4 separate regions of the Homo sapiens genome follow, and regions 2, 3 and 4 are each linked to region 1. Evidence: promoter capture Hi-C in human tissues and cell types (Jung and others, 2019). All regions are on one chromosome and are shown on one strand. The core of a region is centred on a gene start or on the middle of the fragment in contact, and the rest is flanking DNA. Distances in the headings are between cores, read along the strand shown.

Region 1 (5,031 bases), core at 765-3,264:
AGCAAAAACACAAAAAAATTAGCTGGGCGTGGCCGGGCGCAGTGGCTCACACTTGTAATCCCAGCACTTTGGGAGGCCGAGGCGGGCGGATCACGAGGTCAGGAGATCGAGACCATCCTGGCTAACACGGTGAAACCCCGTCTCTACTAAAAATACAAAAAGCTGGGCGTAGTGGCGGGTGCCTGTAGTCCCAGCTACTCGGGAGGCTGAGACAGGAGAATGGCGTGAACCCGGGAGGCGGAGCTTGCAGTGAGCTGAGATGGCGCCAGTGCACTCCAGCCTGGGCTACAGAGCGAAACTCCGTCTCAAAAAAAAAAAAAGAAAAAAAAAATTAGCCAGGCTTGGTGGCGGGGCCTGTAATCCCAGCTACTCGGGAGGCTGAGGCAGGAGAATCGCCTGAATCCGGGAGGCGGAAGTTGCAGTGAGCCCAAAGATCGCACCACTGCACTCCAGCCTGGGCGACAGAGGAAGACTCCCTCTCAAAAAAAAAAAGGAAGTCTCAATGGAGACATGGAGGGAAGGGTTGCAAGGGAATGAATGACAGGGAAGAGATGAATGAGAAACTCTTCCAATCTATGAAGACCCACCGAAGTTTTTGGTTAAAGTAACCTGGTGACTGCCCACAATACAAGTACAAAAAAAGCTCAGGGACGCTTTCATCAGTCATCTTCCAAGATAAGTTTCTCAACCATTGTTTGTTGTAAGGAACATATCCAGGTAGGAATCCAGGCTGCAACTACTCAAGCCAAGATGATCATCCCAGAATAAACTATTTTATGCAAAATATCCTACACTCAAAAATTCCTGTGCCAGGCCGATGAGGTCCTCAAATTAATACTCCAAATATCTGTAAGACTCCGAAAGGACCCCAAGCCACCGGCTGTGATAAAGGAAAAAAGAAAATTACTAATACTCAAAAATATTTTACCTTCTATTCTCGGCGGGAGGTGACAAGGGGAGGTGGCGAGGGGTACCATCTCCCTTCCTAACCGCAGAACTCAACCTCCTAAAAATGCATTGTCTCCGCTGGAAAAAAGGTGCCTGACCATAGACCTAATGCAGCTTTCAAAACAAGGAACACCTTACAATTCTGCGGTCTCTGGCGTTGGAAGCGTCTACCAGCCGGCGAGAAGTGTCTCAACACACCTTCCAGACCTCATATGAGTTCGGGTCCCTGGCTTAGCCACCCCGCGTGTGGCCGCAAGCATCACCGTTCACCAGCACCACCCAGGCCTTGCTGACGTCCAACGTCCGCAGACCTTTTTGCCCGTCCGGATGACCTCCCGCGCTGCCCTGAGGAACCTCGGGCACACCCGAGCATCAGCGATCCTACCACGGGCTCTGAGGCGCTGCGCTTCGGGAGAGGCCCCAGGAGAAGGGGGCGGGGGAGGGGGGGCCGCGCCACAGCGTCCAGGCTGGACCGCCGCCGAGCACCACTCACCGGCCACTGACTCTTCAGAATGGGGAAAAGCTGGGGACGCCGCGGGGAGGACGGGCGGCGGGGCACAGCCGCCCTCGGGGCTGCGGTCAGGACGTAGGGGTGAGGAAGGCCCGACCCCCTCCCTCGGCCCTGCCCACCAGTCCCCGACGCCGGGACTTCCTCCTCCCGAGCGCCGGCGCCGTAGCCCGGGGAAGGCCGGTAACCGCCGCGGGAGGCTGGGGCCGCGCCCGGGGCGAAGGCCGAGGGGACCGCAGGCGGTGGGGCGCGCGCGGCTGGGCCCGGGAACTCACCCGCCGGCGAAGAGGTGAAGCAGCGTGTTCTCCTTCTGCTGGCCGCCCGTCGCCATGGCCGCGCCGGCTCCGCGGCCCGTCGCCGCCCGGTGGCGAGAGCGCGTGGCGGCTCGAGGGATGCGCGAGGTCGCCGGGTCTTGTCTCCCCGCTGCCCTCAGGGGGCTGCCGGCAACGCCTCCATGCGCGCGCGGGCTCCAACGCCCGGCTCTGCTCGGCCCGCGCCTTCCGCGGCGTGGCCGCCGGCGCCTCACCGGCCTCTGCGGCGCGAGCCCGGCGGGGAGCTAGAGCCCGGCGCGCGGCCGTCACGTGGCGGGGGCCGGACCGTGACGTCACGGGCGCGCGAGTCTGGGGCGGGGCGTGACGGGGGTGTGGACCCAAATTTCGAGCGCTCATTGGTTAGGACGCGGATGTGGGCGGGGAGGTTGCGCAGTTCTGGGGCGGAGCCAGCCCCGAGCGAATGACTGGGGAGAGGGGCTGGCCTAGGCCGGAGCGTGGAGGCAGTGGAAACTGGCTGTGACTGACTGGTCCTCGCTCCTCAGAGAAGCCTCGCGAGGCCCTAGGCCTTGCCTTATTTTAAAAGTTTACTTTGTGATATTTACGTGTGCAAAAGGTGTACAAATTACGTGTTACATCTCACACCTCTGTACTCACCACCCCGTTTAGGGAAACAAAAACATAATCTAAAAATCTATAATCTAAACAGCCTTAGATAATCAGTGAGGCCCTCACGGTGGCTCACGCCTGCAATCTCAACACTTTGGGAGGCCGAGGCGGGCGGGCGGATCGCCTGAAGCCAGGAGTTACAGACCAACCTGTCCAAGACGGCGAAACCGTGTCTCTACTAGAAATACAAAAGTTAGCCGGACGAGGCGGCGCACCCCTGTCATCCCAGCTACTTGGGTGGCTGAGGCTGGATAATCGCTTGAGCCCGGGAGGCGGGGGCTGCAGTGAGCCAAGATCTTGCCACTGCACTCCAGCCTGGACGACAAAGCGAGACTCTGTCTCAAATAATTAATAATCATTATCATTATGTGGATTTTTGATCTCCCTATAAGTAGTAGTATATGCTGCGTATATTTTGCAGTATGCTTTTTGCTTCTTTTCTGATCATCTCCAGCCCAGACCTAGATATCCAAACTGCTTCTCTCAGCCTATGTCACTGGGTCATTGTCATACTCAACCTGACATCTTCTAATCTCCAGGTCTCCCCCAGATGGAGACTTTCCTGGCCGCCTTTGCAGCGCAGTCTGTCACACGACTATAGAACCAGGGCTTCTGCAGTTAGTTTGTTGATTTATTTAAGTTGTCCTTCCCATACAGGAATGTAAGCTTCAGGAGAGCAGGGACCTTATTTCTTTTGTTCACAGTTGTTCCTGACACAGTACCTGCCACCTAGTAATGCCCAAGGAGCTAATGAATAAAGGTCCCAAATTGAACTTATCATTCTTCCCCTCCCCCAAACCTGCTCTACCTCTATTTCCTGTCCTGGCAGTGACACCACTGACTGCACAGGCACCAGTGCCAGAAGCTTTCCTGTTACCTTGGACTATGTCTCTCTGTCTGTCTCTCTCTCAGCAGACCACCATTCACCTGCAGAACGTACCAACCCTTTCTCTTCCGTCTCTCAGAGCTCCGGAAAGCTGTACCTTGACCAGAACAAGCAGTTAGATGTCCTGTGTGTAAACATAGAGAGCTTAAGTAGGAGGGAATTGTGTGGAAACGTGGGAGCTAGCCAGCCAATCTGTATTTGATTGCTGGGACTCTTTAAATAAAAACAGCTCTTAGGAGCAGTCCTCCAAAATGCAAATACAGTGGTTACTATTAAAGCCATTGCTCCCAGGCCTAGGAGAAGGGGAAGCCATACTAGGGCATGAGATATCTGAGAAAAAGAAGTAAAGAAAACCCAGCACAGTGGCCCACTCCTGTCATCCCAGCACTTTGGGAGGCTGAGAAGAGTGGATGACTTGAGTCTAGTAGCTCAAGACCAGCCTGGATAACGTGGCAAAACCCTGTCTCTACAAAAGAAAAAAAAAAGTAAAAATAAATAATTTTTTATTTTTATTATATGTTTTTTTTAATTTTTATTTATTTATTTTGAGATGGAGTCTTGCTCTGTCACCCAGGCTGGAGTGCAGTGGCACGATCTCGTCTCACTGCAACCTCTGCCTCCCGGGTTCAAGCAATTCTCCTGCCTCAGCCTCCTGAGTAGCTGGGATTACAGGCATGCACCACCACACTGGGCTAATTTTTGTATTTTTAGTAGAGACAGGGTTTCACCATGTTGGTCAGGCTGGTCTCAAACTCCTGACCTCGTGATCCGCCCACCTCAGCCTCCCAGAGTGCTGGGGTTACAGGCGTGAGTCACCGCACCTGGCCTATTATTTTAAGAGGAGGCCTCATTCTGTCACCCAGGCTGGAGTGCAGTGGCACCATCTTGGCTCACTGCATACTCCACCTCCCAGATTCAAGCGATTGTCCTGCCTCAGCCTCCTGAGTAGCTGGGATTACAGACATATGCCACCATGCTTGGCTAATTTTTGTTGGTTTTTTCTTTTTTTTTTTTTTTGACACGGTGTTTCACTCTTGTTGCCCAGGCTGGAGTGCAATGGTGCGTTCTCGGCTCACTGCGACCCCCACCTCTTGGGTTCAAGCGTTTCTCCTGCCTCAGCCTCCCGAGTAGCTGGGATTACAGGCGCCCGCAACCATGCCTGGTTAATTTTTGTATTTTTAGTAGAGACAGGGTTTCACTATGTTGGCCAGGCTGGGCTCGAACTCCTGACCTCAGGTGATCCGCCCGCCTTGGCCTCCCAAAGTGCTGAGATTACAGGTGTGAGCCACCACGCCTGGCTTGAACCTGCTATTTTCCCTGACTAGGATGGCCCCCTTCCTAGACTTCTAGAGCTCCTCTGACACCAGCTCAGGCATTGGCCATGGCCATGTACTGGGTATACAACAGAGATTCCAATAGATAAAAACCTTTAATGAAACATTGGCAATCAAATCCAGCAATATAGAAAAAGGATAATACATCAGGACGAAATGAGAGATGCCCAGGAATTAGAGATTGGTTTAACATTCAAAAAATCAATCCATATAATTCAGCATATTAAGAGAATAACAGGGACACATGTTCCCAGGACCTCCTGGGGCTGTGTCAACAGCAAAAAAAAAAAAAAAAAAAAAAAAAGGAAAAAAAGAAAAAAAAAACAGTGAAAGAGAAAGAGAGAATAATGGAAAAAAACCTGATGACCATGTAAATTGATGCAGAAAAGCATTTGAAAAAACTGAACACCTATTCAT
Region 2 (4,475 bases), core at 769-3,268, 660 kb after region 1:
TGGACAGTTATTCCCCACCTGCCCACCACCAATAAAACTTCTCAACAAGCTTACAGCAAGTGAGAAATAATAACTAAATGCAATGCCGTTGTGCTGACTACAAGCAAATGTGAACCCCACAGCCTGCTAACAAAGCCTAAGGAGCTATGGAAACAGGGAGGGCATTTGGCAGCCTGTGAATTTTGAAAAAGATTTCAGGACATCTCTAGTAATCATTAACATTTTAGCTACAATGTGAGGTCGAAGTGCTGGCTCAGAATGTGGCGCTGCAGCCTCCAAGAATCTTGCAACGGCAGCAGTCCGGGATCATGTTCGGCCTCTGATTTCCTGCTAGATTTACTGGTTCTGGCCACAGCAGAGTATCTTTATCTCTCTAACCATTTTTATGTAAAATAAGATTGTTTGGAGCCCTTTCAGGGCCACGCCTTAGAATTGCTCTGAGAGTACCAAGTGCCTGATTTCTTAGAGTCCTTACCAGTAGGAGATGTTGGCTGTTGATTTAGCTGCTGAGTCATGGGGCTGGGGATAGTGGTTTTCAGTAGCCAAAAACGTTAGTGTGTTGCTGGTGAAATCACAAACTCTGCTTGCAAAATTTTACTCTTTTTTTTTTTCTTTTTGCTGAATTTAATCCTAAAGTTCTTGCTTCTTACTCACTGGAAAGCAAATACTATGGTCTCAATAGGCCTTAATTTTTAACCAACGCCATGGAAACCTGTCTGTAGCTAAGAGGATAAAAATGCTAGGGGTTAAGGAAGAAAAGCAGGTTTTGCAGCTGACCAGAAGAAATAATTAAATTCAAGTACATATTTGAACACCTCTTTACAAGGAAATGAGGAAAATCAGATGTTTTAGTTCTCTTACAGACCAGCAGTAATGTTGAAAAATATAAAAGTAGCCGTAACAGAAAACGAAGTGATCATCTCAGCCCTCCCTTGGAGTGGGGGGATATATTGCGGAGCTGAGTTTTAATGGCTATCAGTTCTTGATCAGAAAAGTGAAATCACTCCAACTCCTTCCGTATTCCACGGAATATGACCCGTCTTGAACTTTGAGAAATTCCCCGGGTCTGTGTGAAATTCCAGTTCCAAATAATTCACATGAATGGTTCACAAGAATCCAGGTAGGTTTGATCTAGTTCCCTAGATGGGAATGAGAGGGATGTAAAATTTGAGAGGCAACATGACATGGACTAGAGAGAGAATGAATTAACACTGGGGAAGCACGTGGGGGCGCGCCGGACACCTAGAAGGCACTCAAAAAGTATGAGGTAGAATTAAAGGAAAGTGAACCTTCCTTTGGCTGTCTCGGCCTGATTCTCACCGCAGCAAGGAGAAAGGGACAGGGTCACCTTGGCGGGTGCCAGGCGGAGCCCGGCCAGACGGGCGCGGCTGGAGGGCAGCGCGCAGGCGCAGGCGGCGCACGTGGCCCCGGACACGCAGCGCTGCGGCGGGGCCAGCGCCCCAACCCCGGAGTGGGGCCGAGGCGCGCAGCCTCTCAACGACTCGACGCCAACGGGGTCTCTCGGATCGCGGCGCGAGGCAGGAGGGGCGGGGCAGGAGGGCCGCGGCAGGCCCGGGCCGCCAAAGTTGTCAGCAAGGTCGAGGGCCGGACGTGGGGCCCCAGAGCGACGCTGAGTGCGTGCGGGACTCGGAGTACGTGACGGAGCCCCGAGCTCTCATGCCCGCCACGCCGCCCCGGGCCATCCCCCGGAGCCCCGGCTCCGCACACCCCAGTTCGGCTCACCGGTCCTATCTGGGGCCAGAGTTTCGCCCGCACCACTACAGGGCCGCTGGGGAGTCGGGGCCCCCCAGATCTGCCCGCCTCAAGTCCGCGGGACGTCACCCCCCTTTCCACGCTACTGCAGCCGTCGCAGTCCCACCCCTTTCCGGGAGGTGAGGGAATGAGTGACGGCTCTCCCGACGAATGGCGAGGCGGAGCTGAGGGGGCGTGCCCCGGAGGCGGGAAGTGGGTGGGGCTCGCCTTAGCTAGGCAGGAAGTCGGCGCGGGCGGCGCGGACAGTATCTGTGGGTACCCGGAGCACGGAGATCTCGCCGGCTTTACGTTCACCTCGGTGTCTGCAGCACCCTCCGCTTCCTCTCCTAGGCGACGAGACCCAGTGGCTAGGTAATGATTGGGGAAGGGCTGAGCAACGGGCAGGCGGCGCAGGGCTTTTCTGGGCTTGTGGGGCTCTTTTCCCTCCGAGGGAGGCGGCGCGCCCGCAGGCCCAGCGTGGCGGGGTCGGGGGCACGTGCAAGCCGCCTCCCTGGGTGGGAACTGGCGCCCCCGCTCACCCCGAGGCCCGGGGCGGGGGCGCAATGCCAGGCGCACGTGCTGGGCCCCCGATTTCTTTGGAGGGGAAAGTGCAGATCAACACGTGATTACCGACTGCGGGGCCGAGTCACTGTCAGGGAAGGTCGGGAGCTGCACACGCGAGCTGCTTAGCACAGCGGGAGTTGGGAGTGGAAGTTGCTTTTCCATCGTAGCCAAGTGTAAGGTTTTTGGGATAGACGCAGACTTAGCGGCGGTGGCCACTCAGGCCAGGCCCTTCCTAAAATGGAGGAGGGCGGCGATAGTGGAGATGGCCACGAGGCTGCGGCCCCCTCCCCCACCGGTAGCCCCCGCCTCTCGCCCGCGCTCGCGGCCCGCGCTTCTGCCTAGTAAGCGGTGACTCATTTAACTCCGAGAAGGCACCTCTTGAGGAACCTACAGCAGAGCCGTTAGATCATTGGCAAGTCCTCCAGGCGACCTCGCCCAAGTTGGGCAAGAGCGGCTCCCCGGCTGGCCACCAAAAATCGGGCCTGATCTGATTTGGTTTTTTTTTTTTTTTGAGTTTTGCTATTGTTGCCCAGGCTGGAGTGCAATTGCGCGATCTCGGATCTCGGTTCACCGCAACCTCGGCCTCCTGGGTTCAAGCGATTCTCCTACCTCAGCCTCCCGAGTAGCTGGGATTACAGGCATGCGCCACCACGCCCGGCTAATTTTGTTTTTTTTTTGTTGTTGTTGTTGTTTTAGTAGAGGCGGTGTTTCACCATGTTGGCCAGGCTGGTCTTGAGCTCCCGACCTCAGGTGATCCGCCCGCCTCGGCCTCCCAAAGTGCTGGGATTACAGGCGTGAGCCACCGCGCTAGGCCAAGAAGGATGTATTTTAAGAAAGCTTCCTGTTCAATGTTCCCCTGCTCTGTGCGCTTCTCTGGGCGGTAGGGTCCATTGCTTCACTTGCCTTTCAGGCCCACCCGGGCCCTGACTGCTCCATTCATTTACCGTGTCCCTAATTCGGGGTTCCATCCAGGCAGCTAAAAAAGCTGTGAATGGTCCGGGCGCGGTGGCTCACGCCTGTAATCCGAGCACTTTGGGATGCCGAGGTGGGCCTCCTCAGGATCACCTGAGGTCGGGAGTTAGAGACCAGCCTGACCAACGTGGTGAAACCCCGTCTCTACTGAAAATACAAAAATCGACCAGGCGCGGTGGCTCACGCCTGTAATCCTAGCACTTTGGGAGGCCGAGGTGGGTGGCTCACGAGGTCAGGAGATCGAGACCATCCTACTCTACTAAACCCCATCTCTACTAAAAATACAAAAAATTAGCCGGGTGTGGTGGTGGGCGCCTGTAGTCCCAGCTACTCTGGAGGCGGAGCCTGCAGTGAGTCGAGATCGTGTCACTGCACTCTAGCCTGGGCGAAAGAGCGCGACTCCGTCTCAAAAAAAAAAAAAAATCACCTGGGCGTAATGGCAGGCGCCTGTAATCCCACCTACTCGGGAGGCTGAGACAGGAGGCTGAGGTTGCAGTGAGCCAAAATGGCGCCATTGCACTCCAGTCTGGGCGACAACAGCGAAACTCCGTCTCAAAAAATAAAAAAAAAATCACACTTTATTTTCACATCCTAAGACGTTTGTCTTTTTTTTTTTTTCTGAGACGGAGTCTCTCTGTCGCCCAGGCTGGAGTGTAGTGGCGCGATCTCGACTCACTGCAAGCTCCACCTCCCGGGTTCACACCATTCTTCTGCCTCAGCCTCCTCTCCTGACCTCGTGATCCACCCTCCTCGGCCTCCCAAAGTGCTGGGATTACAGGCGTGAGCCACCGCGCCCGGCCAAGACTTTCTTTCGTCTTAAGTCACTAAAATGAAAACAAAAGTACTGAGGCACCCTAATAAAATTGCCTTTAAAAGTATGACTGAAATACTCAAAGTATACCACAGTGGTGGCCTGGAGATGGGGCAGGGGGATATTGACTGGAAATGGCCTGAGATAACTTTTTGCAGTGATGGAAATGTTACTCGGGTATATAATTTGCCAAAACGCAAAATTAAATCTAAAAATATGTTTAAACAAATTTGCCTTTTTGGAACCTAGTAAAAAGTAAGTACCTTTTTTTGGCTAATGAATAAAACTCCATTGTTACATAGACAACAAAGCCACAGAAGTGACTTCAGTAAATAATTTTGAAAGTTAAAAACCTGCCACTTGCCACCTCAGGACA
Region 3 (4,859 bases), core at 881-3,380, 590 kb after region 1:
TGGCACATGCCGTTAATCCCAGCTACTTGAGAGGCTAAGGCAGGAGAATCACTTGAACCCAGGAGGCAGAGGTTGCGGTGAGCCGAGATCGCGCCACTGCACTCCAGCCTGGGCAACGAGAGTGAAACTCTCAAAAAAAAAAAAAAAGGTGTCTGTACTAGGGCCCTCACCGCTTTTTGGTTTGTAATCAAGGCAATTGGCCTGGAGCACAACGCCTTCTCAGAGCAAGATGCTTTGGCCCAGGGCACTGTCAATACTGGAACATCTCTCAGGTTTCCCTGGAAGGCATTTACAAAAGCTACTCTCAAGTTCTCCTGGAGCCCCTAGTAGTTTCCCAGGAAGCCCACTGTCTCAGAGGCTGGGCAGAGCCTGGGAAGGACAAGGACTTCATTGTCTGAATTCTCTCTTCCTTCACCTCTGAACCACCTGCCTGCACTGCTTGGCCAAGTGAAGCAGAATGCCCCAGGCTTCCGAGGCACTGCCATGTGTAAGATCACTGTCCTCAGGAACAGAGCGGTTGTTCAGAGCTGGCTGGACTTTCTGAACCTCCCAGGATGTCCCTAATTCCGTTGCCCTTGACTTAACAGATCATCCCGTTCACCCTGAAGGAATGCTTCCGGAGCAGCTGAACTGGGGCAGACTCTGCAGGAAGCAGATGTTTGTCTCACTTCCTGCATCAGCCAGCGGCCACCAGCCTCCTCATGGGCCCCAATCCATGGTCCCGTATGGAAAGAAGGGGGATGCGGGAAGAAGCTCTCCTCACTGCCCCTGGAAAGGGCTGTTTAGTGTCCACAAAGTCCACAGACACGGCCTTCTAGCTTTGGCTCACATGTGGACCAGAACCCATGTTGAATGCCAGGATTTTACATTTCACATTTTAAAAGTCTGGTTTGGGGCCTGGCGCGGTGGCTCACGCCTGTAATCCCAGCACTTTGGGAGGCTAAGGTGGGCGGATCACTTGAGGTCAGAAGTTTGAGAACAGCCTGGCCAACGTGGTAAAACCCCATCTCCACTAAAAATACAAAAGTTAGCCAGGCATGGTGATGAGTGCCTGTAATCCCAGCTACTTGGGAGGCTAAGACATGAGAATCGCTTGAAACCAGGAGGCAGAGGTTGCAGTAAGCCGAGATGGCACCACTGAACTCCAGCCTGGGCAACAGAGCAAGACTCTGTCTCAAAAAAAAAAAAAAAACAAAAAAAAAAACACCTCTCATTTTGGCAGCCCACAGATCAAAGGGAACTGGGTCCTTATGTCAAGATGTTCTGGGTAAACTGCCTACCATGAAATTTCCAAGAAAGAAGGTCTCGCAAACCCCACAGCACCTTCCGTGAGGTTACCGAGAGTCTTTTCTAAGAACTTTGTTTTCCACTTACACGGACCAACAAAGCAAATGGTTTTACAAATAGAAGCAGTGAGTGTGCTTTTGAACCAGCCAACACTGTGGATGGAAAAAAATTTAAAGCAAAAAGCCTGTAAGTAAATCAGGAGTTTGTGAAGGGGAAAGCTATTTCCTTCTTTTCCTTATTTGAAGTTTAAGTTCAGCTTATTCTCCATACCTTCTGAGACACTGAAAAGGTAACATCTGAAGCCACAATGAGCAGACCCCCAACATATGGCAAGTGGGCTGCCTGGCCATCCTGTGAAATGCCCTAAAGGAGGACTCTTGGCCGGGCGCAATGGCTCATGCCTGTAATCCCAGCACTTTGGGAGATGGGCAGATCACCTAAGGTCAGGAGTTCGAGACCAGCCTGGACAACATGGTGAAACCCTGTCTCTACTAAAAATACAAAAATTAGCCAGGCATGGTGGCAGGCACCTGTAATCCCAGGTACTCGGGAGGCTAAGGCAGCAGAATCACTTGAACCCGGGAGGCGGAGGTTGCAGTGAGCCAACATCACACTACTGTACTCAAGCCTGGGCAACAGAGCAAGACTTTGTCTAAAAAAAAAAAAAAGAAGAAGAAGAAGGGCACTTGTCCTGTTGTAAGGGTGTGAGGGTAACTGGGGGAGCATGCAGAAGCTAGGGGCTCACCTGAGTAGGTCCAGTCAGACACATGCTGGGCCTGGCCACCCAGCAGGAACAGGGACAGCAGAAGCACCAGGGCCCTCATGGTGCTGCACATCTGTAATGAAGACTGATTCCGGCGAAGCTCTTCTTTTAAAGGCTCAGAAACTGTAAATAACAATTTACAATTGATCTGCCCAGCTGGCTAAACCACCCTTTGCTGCACCCACTAAAACAATAACACCCTCCCCATAACAGCACTTCTGGCTCCGTGCATTGCGCCAGGCAGCCCCAGCACCTGCCTGATCTCCTCCCACGTCAATTTCATATCCGGTCAGTCCATGGGTTTGGTTGTTCAGTGTCTTAGGAACACCTGAAGAGCCACACAGTGCAGCCATTGTGGACAGGTGACCGCGGAAATGGGAAAAGGCCCAAGGCAGGGAGAAGCAGGATGAAAGACTTTCCTGGACGTCGGACTTCCCATGCTCTTTCTCCTGACATTAGAGATCTGGGGACTGCTGATGGGATCACCACTGCCTGCAAACCCTGCCCATCTCAGTCATGGACACAAGCCACCGCTGCAGACATGTGGCTGCCCTCAGCCAGGCATCCAGGGAGGTGGCCTGGCCTCCATGTTTGGACATTTCACGGTCCTCTCCTTAAACCAGTGGTTGATCCTGGGTCCCAGCTCATGAGCCACATTCCAATGTGTGCCTTTATGCCATTCAAGCTGGTGTGGGCGTCTGCATTTCTACATGGATTTGTTCTGACACCTGCAGGGCTCTTGGGCACACCTAAGCCAATCAGCCAATTGCCCTCGCAGGATCCATGGATTACCTAATCCTGTGTATTCACTTGGCTAGACAGTCCCTGAAATTAGCTGAAGGAGAAACTTTTGAGTTTATGCCTGCTGACAGGCCAGCATTTCCCATGCCCTTCCACAAGGTCAAACACAAAGGGTAGCCGGAGCTCCTGCGGGGGGGCTACCATGCTGCCGGACACAAAGGGCCACCCCTGCCTTGTTATGGGGAGCTGAACCCCCTCCTGGCCTAGCTTAACTCATTGTCCACTTGGTCCTGGAATGGCAAACGTCAGCAGGCCTTCACAACAAGGATGTTAGCGGTGAACGTAGGCCTCCCGAATACTTCTAAGACTCCCCACTGTCATTTAATAGGGAACATCAGCTGCTGCAAAGAACTTGCTGGAAACTTCCATTTCTAAAGCTCAAGAGCTGAAAGAATCTCAGAGAGAGAGCAAAGCATGTTCAAGGACAAGGATTCTGAAACTAGACAGGATCTGTGCCACCTGCTAACTGTGTGACCATGGGCAACTCAGCGCTCTGTGCCTCAGCTTTCCTTCCTTTTCTTTTTTCTCTTTCTTTCTTCCTTTCTCTCTTTCTTTTCTTTCTCTCTTTCTCTCTTTCTTTCTTTTTTGAGACAGGGTCTCTCTCTGTCACCAGGCTGGAGTGCAATGATACGATTTCAGCTCACTTCTCTTGGACTCAAGCAATCCTCCTGCCTCAGCTTCCCAAGTAGCTGGGACCACAGTCGCATGCCACTACGCCCTGCTAATTTTTGTACTTTTTGTAGATACAGGTTTTCACCATGTTGCTTAGGCTGGCCTCAAACTCCTGGACTCAAGCGATTCTCCCGCCTCGTGCTCCCAAAGTGCTGGGATTACAGGCGTGAGCCGCCGCACCTGGCCGCCTCCTTTCTTTAAAAGGAGTTAGTGATAGCACCTCCTTTGTGGGGATTCGGCAATAAATGTGCCTGCAGTAGTTGGAGCAGTGCCTGGTGTGTAGCAAATGGCATTAGCATCTATTCAGACCCCTCATTTTATAGGAAAAGGAAGTGATTTATCATTGCCACCCAGCTGGTTAGTGAGGGAACTGGAGGAAAAATGCTTCAATCTCCAGCTTATGGACCATTTCTTTGCAAAAATGAGAAACCTACTCTTCTGTCCTTGCTAAACCAGTGACGCCCACCTGCTGACTCCCAGCCCTGCGGAAAGGGCCACCTTGTAAATCACAAGGCCCCACCTCTGCTGAGGAGACCAAGACCCTTTACAAGCCCAGGCAGGACCCCTGACATCAAACTGGCAGGAAAACACAAACTCAGTCATCTGAATTTTTTCTTGGGAATCTGAATTGGGAGACCCAGAAAGAATCAGGGAGCTGCAGGCAGGCAGAGACTAAAATGTCAGGCTGTCACGGAAGCCTGGGAGGACTGGATGAGCCCAGGCGAGGGGAACTGGAGCAGGAAGGAGCTCAGAGAAAGCCTGGGCCAAGGGGGAGGGGAAGACTGCCCAAAGAGGGGCCCTGGAGAGTCAGAGAGAGGAGTGCTTGCGGGAGAGCACAGTGAAATGCAGAGGGCCCACCACTCCTGGCAGCTCCCAGCCCCACGGGTCTCACTGCCCTGCGGTGAGCATTTGGGGCTTCCCAGGAGAGCTCTGGGGCGTTCCTTGCCTCACACAGCTCCTTAAAATACAGTGCACATACTGCGTCTGTGAAGCTGTGATGCCAGCAGCCCCTCTGCAGAACTGCTGTGCAGCGTATCCACCCATCACATCTGAAGCTTTGCCCTGGTTTTGCCTTTCGCTCAGGCAAGAGCCTGGACTGGCCAGCAACCTGTTGACCTGGCTGGTGTTGAGAATTGGTGTGAAAGTGAGTAATTAAGGCAATACGGGGGTCAGATCAGATGATGGCCTCTTGGAGAAGCAAGGCCATCTGCCAACGAGGGCATATTTCTAGAGAGAGGGTCCCCTCCCTCCGCTGTACAGCACACTGCCAAGGACATACTGGACCCAGAATCAGGTGTGGTCAGTAGTGTTGCCTATTTTCTGACTCCTTGTCTAC
Region 4 (4,538 bases), core at 121-2,620, 930 kb before region 1:
TAAAAATAAGATAAGAAAATAAAAAATGAAATTATATGAAAAAGGATACATACATTAGAGTTAACCGCCAGCTCCTATTATAGTTGTGTTTTGATCAATATAGACTGCTTAAAAGGGATGACTTAATGAATAATTCCTCCTACTAAACGCTGTTTTAAATGTCTAAACTTTTCTTGAGATAATATCCAATTTCCTCTCCCACGTTTTTTTTGTTTGTTTTTGCTTTTGTTTTTGTTTTTGCTTGAGACGAAGTCTTGCTCCTGACGCCCAGGCTGGAGTGCAATGGTGCGATCTGGGCCGACTGCAACCTCCGCCTCCCGGGTTCAAGCGATTCACCTGCCTCAGCCTCCCAAGAGCTGGGACTACAGGCGTGCGCCATCACGCCCGGCTAATTTTTGTATTTTTAGTAGAGATAGGGTTTCACCATGCTGGCCAGGCTGGTCTCAAACTACTGACCTCAGATCATCTGTCCGCCTCGGCCTCCTAAAGTGCTGAGATTACAGGGGTGAGCCACCGCCCCCGGGGCCCTTGCCCACGTTTTTATAAACAAAATATGAGGTGGGAGGATTGCTTGAGCCCAGGAGATCAAAACTGCAGTGAGCCATCATCGCGCCACTGCACTCCAGCCTGGGAGACAGAGCGAAACGCTGTCTCAAAAAAAGAAAAAAGAAACAAGGAAGGAAAGTGTCCCCCGAATGAATAAATATGAGCAGATAATTACTTCTAGTTTACATAAAATGCCCTCTTTTAAGAGAGGAACTTTTTGATCATTTTTATTACTATTCTTTTAATCTTAGATGTTTATTTTTCAGGAGGAAAAAAACAAACTTTTCCATAGTAGCAGTATTAAAACAAAGATGAATATGTTGTCAAGAGGCATCTGAACAATCTCCAACAGTGCCGAGTCGCATTTCCCCTTTCCTCTCCGATGCATTTGAGACTTTAATGCTTACTATATTTATTTAAGCGTTTTGTTCTGAGACCCCAAACTAATTTGCACAGTTGAAGCAGGAAATAGAATGGGTGGAAACATGCGGGTGTCTGTATTAGCATTATGCATCTCATATGCGAATAGGAATGCTCTAAAAATTCAATACAGTATACATGCGTGTGCATCGTCATGCAAAATAAGTCTCTATTGGCCTTATATTTGAACGCGCGAATGCAGCTCCTAAAAGTTAAAAACAACTCCTAGGCTGAATCGCGCGATAGAACGAAAGCGGCTTTAAACCCAGAGACTACAGTTTCCGGCATGCTTCGACGCCACACGTGATTAGCGGCAACTAGAACTACATTTCCCGGCGTGCCCTGGTCTCACGTGTGATTTGCTGCGGAACGAACTACATCTCCCGGCAGGCTGCGGAAGGGGGTCGAGTAGAAGGACCGCCGCTCCGGCCTCCCGCGACTTCTCGAAGGTGGGCAGGTCCCACCTTGTGGAGGATGGAGGTGACCGGGGACGCCGGGGTACCAGAATCTGGCGAGATCCGGACTCTAAAGCCGTGTCTGCTGCGCCGCAACTACAGCCGCGAACAGCACGGCGTGGCCGCCTCCTGCCTCGAAGACCTGAGGAGCAAGGGTTGGCTCGGGACCCCGGGCGAGGGTGTGGGGGAGCCAGGGCCGGGTGAGGACGTCCGGCGGGGGCGAGGCGGGGTCAGGAGAGGCGACTTGGGGATTCTTGTATCTCGGGTGGAGGCTTGGGACAGAAACGGTCCGAGTGGGCATAGCGATTTACAGATTTAAGGCGCTTGAGCGTAATTAATCTCGTGTGAGACTCCACGGTGGTGGGAAGACAGCCAGGAAGCAATGTGCAAATTAAGCCAGACTCGGCTTAGGTCTCTTGCCTGAAATCACTTCGATGTTGGACCAAACGGACCCCACTGGGTTCCTGCCACTCCGCCACACTCAGATGGTACAAGAACCCCCAGCTGAGCCCACGGCGGTGTGGGGAGGGGTTTCCACCGTCCGCTCTGGCAGGAACCTATGCAGGAAAGAGGGAGCTGCTACTGACCATTTCTGGAGGTCCAGACAAGGAACGTGAGTTGTAAGTGACGGAGCCGACGGAAGTTCCGAGCCCGGCCCCATACCTTTACCAGCTGCTTGGCCTTGCACTTAACCAGCTCTCAACCCTCAGTTTTCTCATCAGCAAATTGGGTATAATATTTATAGCCCTGCTTCAAAGGGTTGTTGGTTCTCTCAAATAAGATGATATATTTAAGTGACTTACAAGTCTTATTAGCCAGTAGCAACAAATCGCTTACCCAAAGAAGTTTTACAGGTTACATGTGTGAGCCAGCCCCAGGCATGTAGTCACAGTGTGTGTCAGAGGGCACAGTTGCTTCCTCTCAGTCACCAACAGAAATCATATGGAAATTTTCAGAGACCCATGAACAGCCAAAGCATTATAAATGCTTTGGTAACATGGATTTTGCATATAAGCATTTATGTATTTTTTTTCCTGACATTAGATTACTTTACTTCTAATTCCCCTTCAGTGCCGTGGCTGGATGTGCGTGGCACAGAGGCTGGTGTTCTCTGCAGTCCAGCGCATACATGCCTTGCTGTTCTATTGGGTGGTAGACAACACCGCTGAAGGATATTTGTAGTCTCTTGGCTATTTCTGATCACTCCAGTCCCGTTAGTATTTGAAGCATTGCTATCACTAAATGGAATAGTACAGACCTGTCCTGGAGAAAGCCTCTCCGCCAATGATAATGATATGAAAAGCTACTGATAGAAGCTTCCACTTCTTTTATACTTTCCCATAGGTTAGAAAAGAAGCTGCTAAGGAAGATACTGTAAAGAACAAAAAGCATTTTCTTTTTTTTTTTTTTTTTTTGAGACGGAGTGTCACTCTGTCACCCAGGCTGGAGTGCAGTGGCGCTATCTCGGCTCACTGCAAGCTCCGCCTCCCGGGTTCACTCCATTCTCCTGCTTCAGCCTCCCGAGTAGCTGGGACTACAGGCGCCCACCACCACGCCCATCTAATTTTTTGTATTTTTTAGCAGAGACGGTTTTTCACCATGTTAGCCAGGATGGTCTCGATTGCCTGCTTTGTGATCCACCCGCCTCGGCCTCCCAAAGTGCTGGGATTACAGACGTGAGCCACCGTGCCTGGCCTTTTTGGTGTATTTTTTGACATTTTTACACATAGGAGAATTTAAGAGGACACCTGAGGGCCGGGTCCGGTGGCTCACACCTGTAATCCCAGCACTTTGGGAGGCCGAGGTGGGCGGATCACGAGGTCAGGAGATCGAGACCATCCTGGCTAACACGGTGAAACCCCGTCTCTACTAAAAATACAAAAAAATTAGCCGGGCGTGGTGGTGGGCGCCTGTAATCCCAGCTACTCCGGAGGCTGAAGCAGGAGAATGGCGTGAACCCGGGGGGCGGAGCTTGCAGTGAGCCCAGATAGCGCCTGGGCACTCCAGCCTGGGCGACAGAGTGAGACTCCGTCTCAAAAAAAAAAAAAAAAAAAAGAGGAAAACTGAATAAATGAATGAGAGACTGCTTGTTTGCAAGGAATCAAACTAGACTTTGATTGGTTGTTCACTCCAGTAAAAACTCAAATGCCTACCATACATGAGTGTGGAGTAGCTGGAGTAAACATACTTTCAGGAGCCAGACTTTGTGGGTTTAAATCCCAGCTTTGCCACTTACTGTGTGATCTTAGACAAGTTACTTAACCTCTCTGAGCCTTGGGTTCATCATCTATAAAACAGAACTAATAAAAGTACCTACTTTACAGGATTATTATGAGATTAAATACTGTATATGAAAAGCACTTAGGCCAGGCGCGGTTGCTCATGCCTGTAATCCTAGCACTTTGGGAGGCCGAGGCAGGTAGATCATTAAGTCGGGAGTTCCAGACCAGACTGGCCAAGATGGTGAAACCCCGTCTCTACTAAAAATACAAAAATTAGCCAGGCACGGTGGCCGGTGCCTGTAGTCCCAGCTACTCGGGAGACTAAGGCAGAGAGTTGCTTGAACCCGGGAGGCGGAGGTTGCTGTGAACCAAGATTGTACTACTGCACGCCAGCCTGTCTCAAAAAAAAAAAAAAAGAAAGAAAGAAAAGCACTTAGGGCTGAGCACAGTGGCTCATGCCTCTAATCCCAGCACTTTGGGAGGCCAAGGCGGGTGGATCATGAGGTCAGGAGTTCGAGACCAGCCTGGTCAACATGGTGAAACCACGTCTCTACTAAAAATACAAAAATTAGCCGGACATGGTGGTGCACGCCTATAATCCCAACTACTCGGGAGGCTGAGGCAGGAAAATCACTTGAACCTGGGAGGCAGAGGTTTCAGTGAGCCGAGATCGCGCCAGTGCACTGCAGCCTGGGTAACAGAGTGAGACCCTGCTACAAAAAAAAAGAAAAGAACACTTAGAACAGAATCAGGCACGTGATGAGTGTTCTGGTAGTGCTAGAAGTGATGATTGTGATTCTAGTTATTACCTACCAGGAGTTCTGCTCAGCTCTGGAGCCATACATACTTGAGATGCAGGGATAGATGTAATTTCCTTACGGTTATTTGTCATTTG

The links. The method cuts DNA at HindIII sites, captures the fragments that hold promoters and counts their contacts. A contact is called where the count stands out against the background at its distance.
Region 2: a contact is called between the fragment with the promoter of ENO1 here and the fragment with the promoter of SLC25A33 in region 1, in 1 of the 25 tissues and cell types used here (dorsolateral prefrontal cortex).
Region 3: a contact is called between the fragment with the promoter of CA6 here and the fragment with the promoter of SLC25A33 in region 1, in 1 of the 25 tissues and cell types used here (adrenal gland).
Region 4: the fragment with the promoter of DFFA here is called in contact with the fragment with the promoter of SLC25A33 in region 1 in 1 of the 25 tissues and cell types used here (pancreas).

Annotation. Positions count from the first base shown.
Region 1 is chr1:9,536,448-9,541,478 of GRCh38, reverse strand. It overlaps SLC25A33 (solute carrier family 25 member 33), which reads right to left and starts at 2,014. Exons shown (of 7, transcript NM_032315.3): 1 at 1,732-2,014. The coding sequence starts at 1,787. RefSeq lists enhancers at 1-133, 1,159-1,288, 1,955-2,249 and silencers at 1,359-1,718, 1,739-2,258. The HindIII fragment of the contact is 17,899 bases long and covers 1-5,031 here.
Region 2 is chr1:8,876,229-8,880,703 of GRCh38, reverse strand. ENO1 (enolase 1) reads left to right here and starts at 2,018. Exons shown (of 12, transcript NM_001428.5): 1 at 2,018-2,124. ENO1-AS1 (ENO1 antisense RNA 1) reads right to left here and starts at 1,869. Exons shown (of 2, transcript NR_038351.1): 1 at 1,744-1,869; 2 at 819-1,139. RefSeq lists silencers at 1,295-1,544, 2,265-2,314, 2,525-2,644 and enhancers at 1,403-1,994, 1,995-2,588, 2,589-3,181. The HindIII fragment of the contact is 5,823 bases long and covers 1-4,475 here.
Region 3 is chr1:8,943,139-8,947,997 of GRCh38, reverse strand. CA6 (carbonic anhydrase 6) reads right to left here and starts at 2,130. Exons shown (of 8, transcript NM_001215.4): 1 at 2,033-2,130. The coding sequence starts at 2,111. The HindIII fragment of the contact is 10,958 bases long and covers 1-4,859 here.
Region 4 is chr1:10,469,361-10,473,898 of GRCh38, reverse strand. DFFA (DNA fragmentation factor subunit alpha) reads left to right here and starts at 1,370. Exons shown (of 6, transcript NM_004401.3): 1 at 1,370-1,576. The coding sequence starts at 1,441. RefSeq lists an enhancer at 1,802-1,901. The HindIII fragment of the contact is 16,915 bases long and covers 1-4,538 here.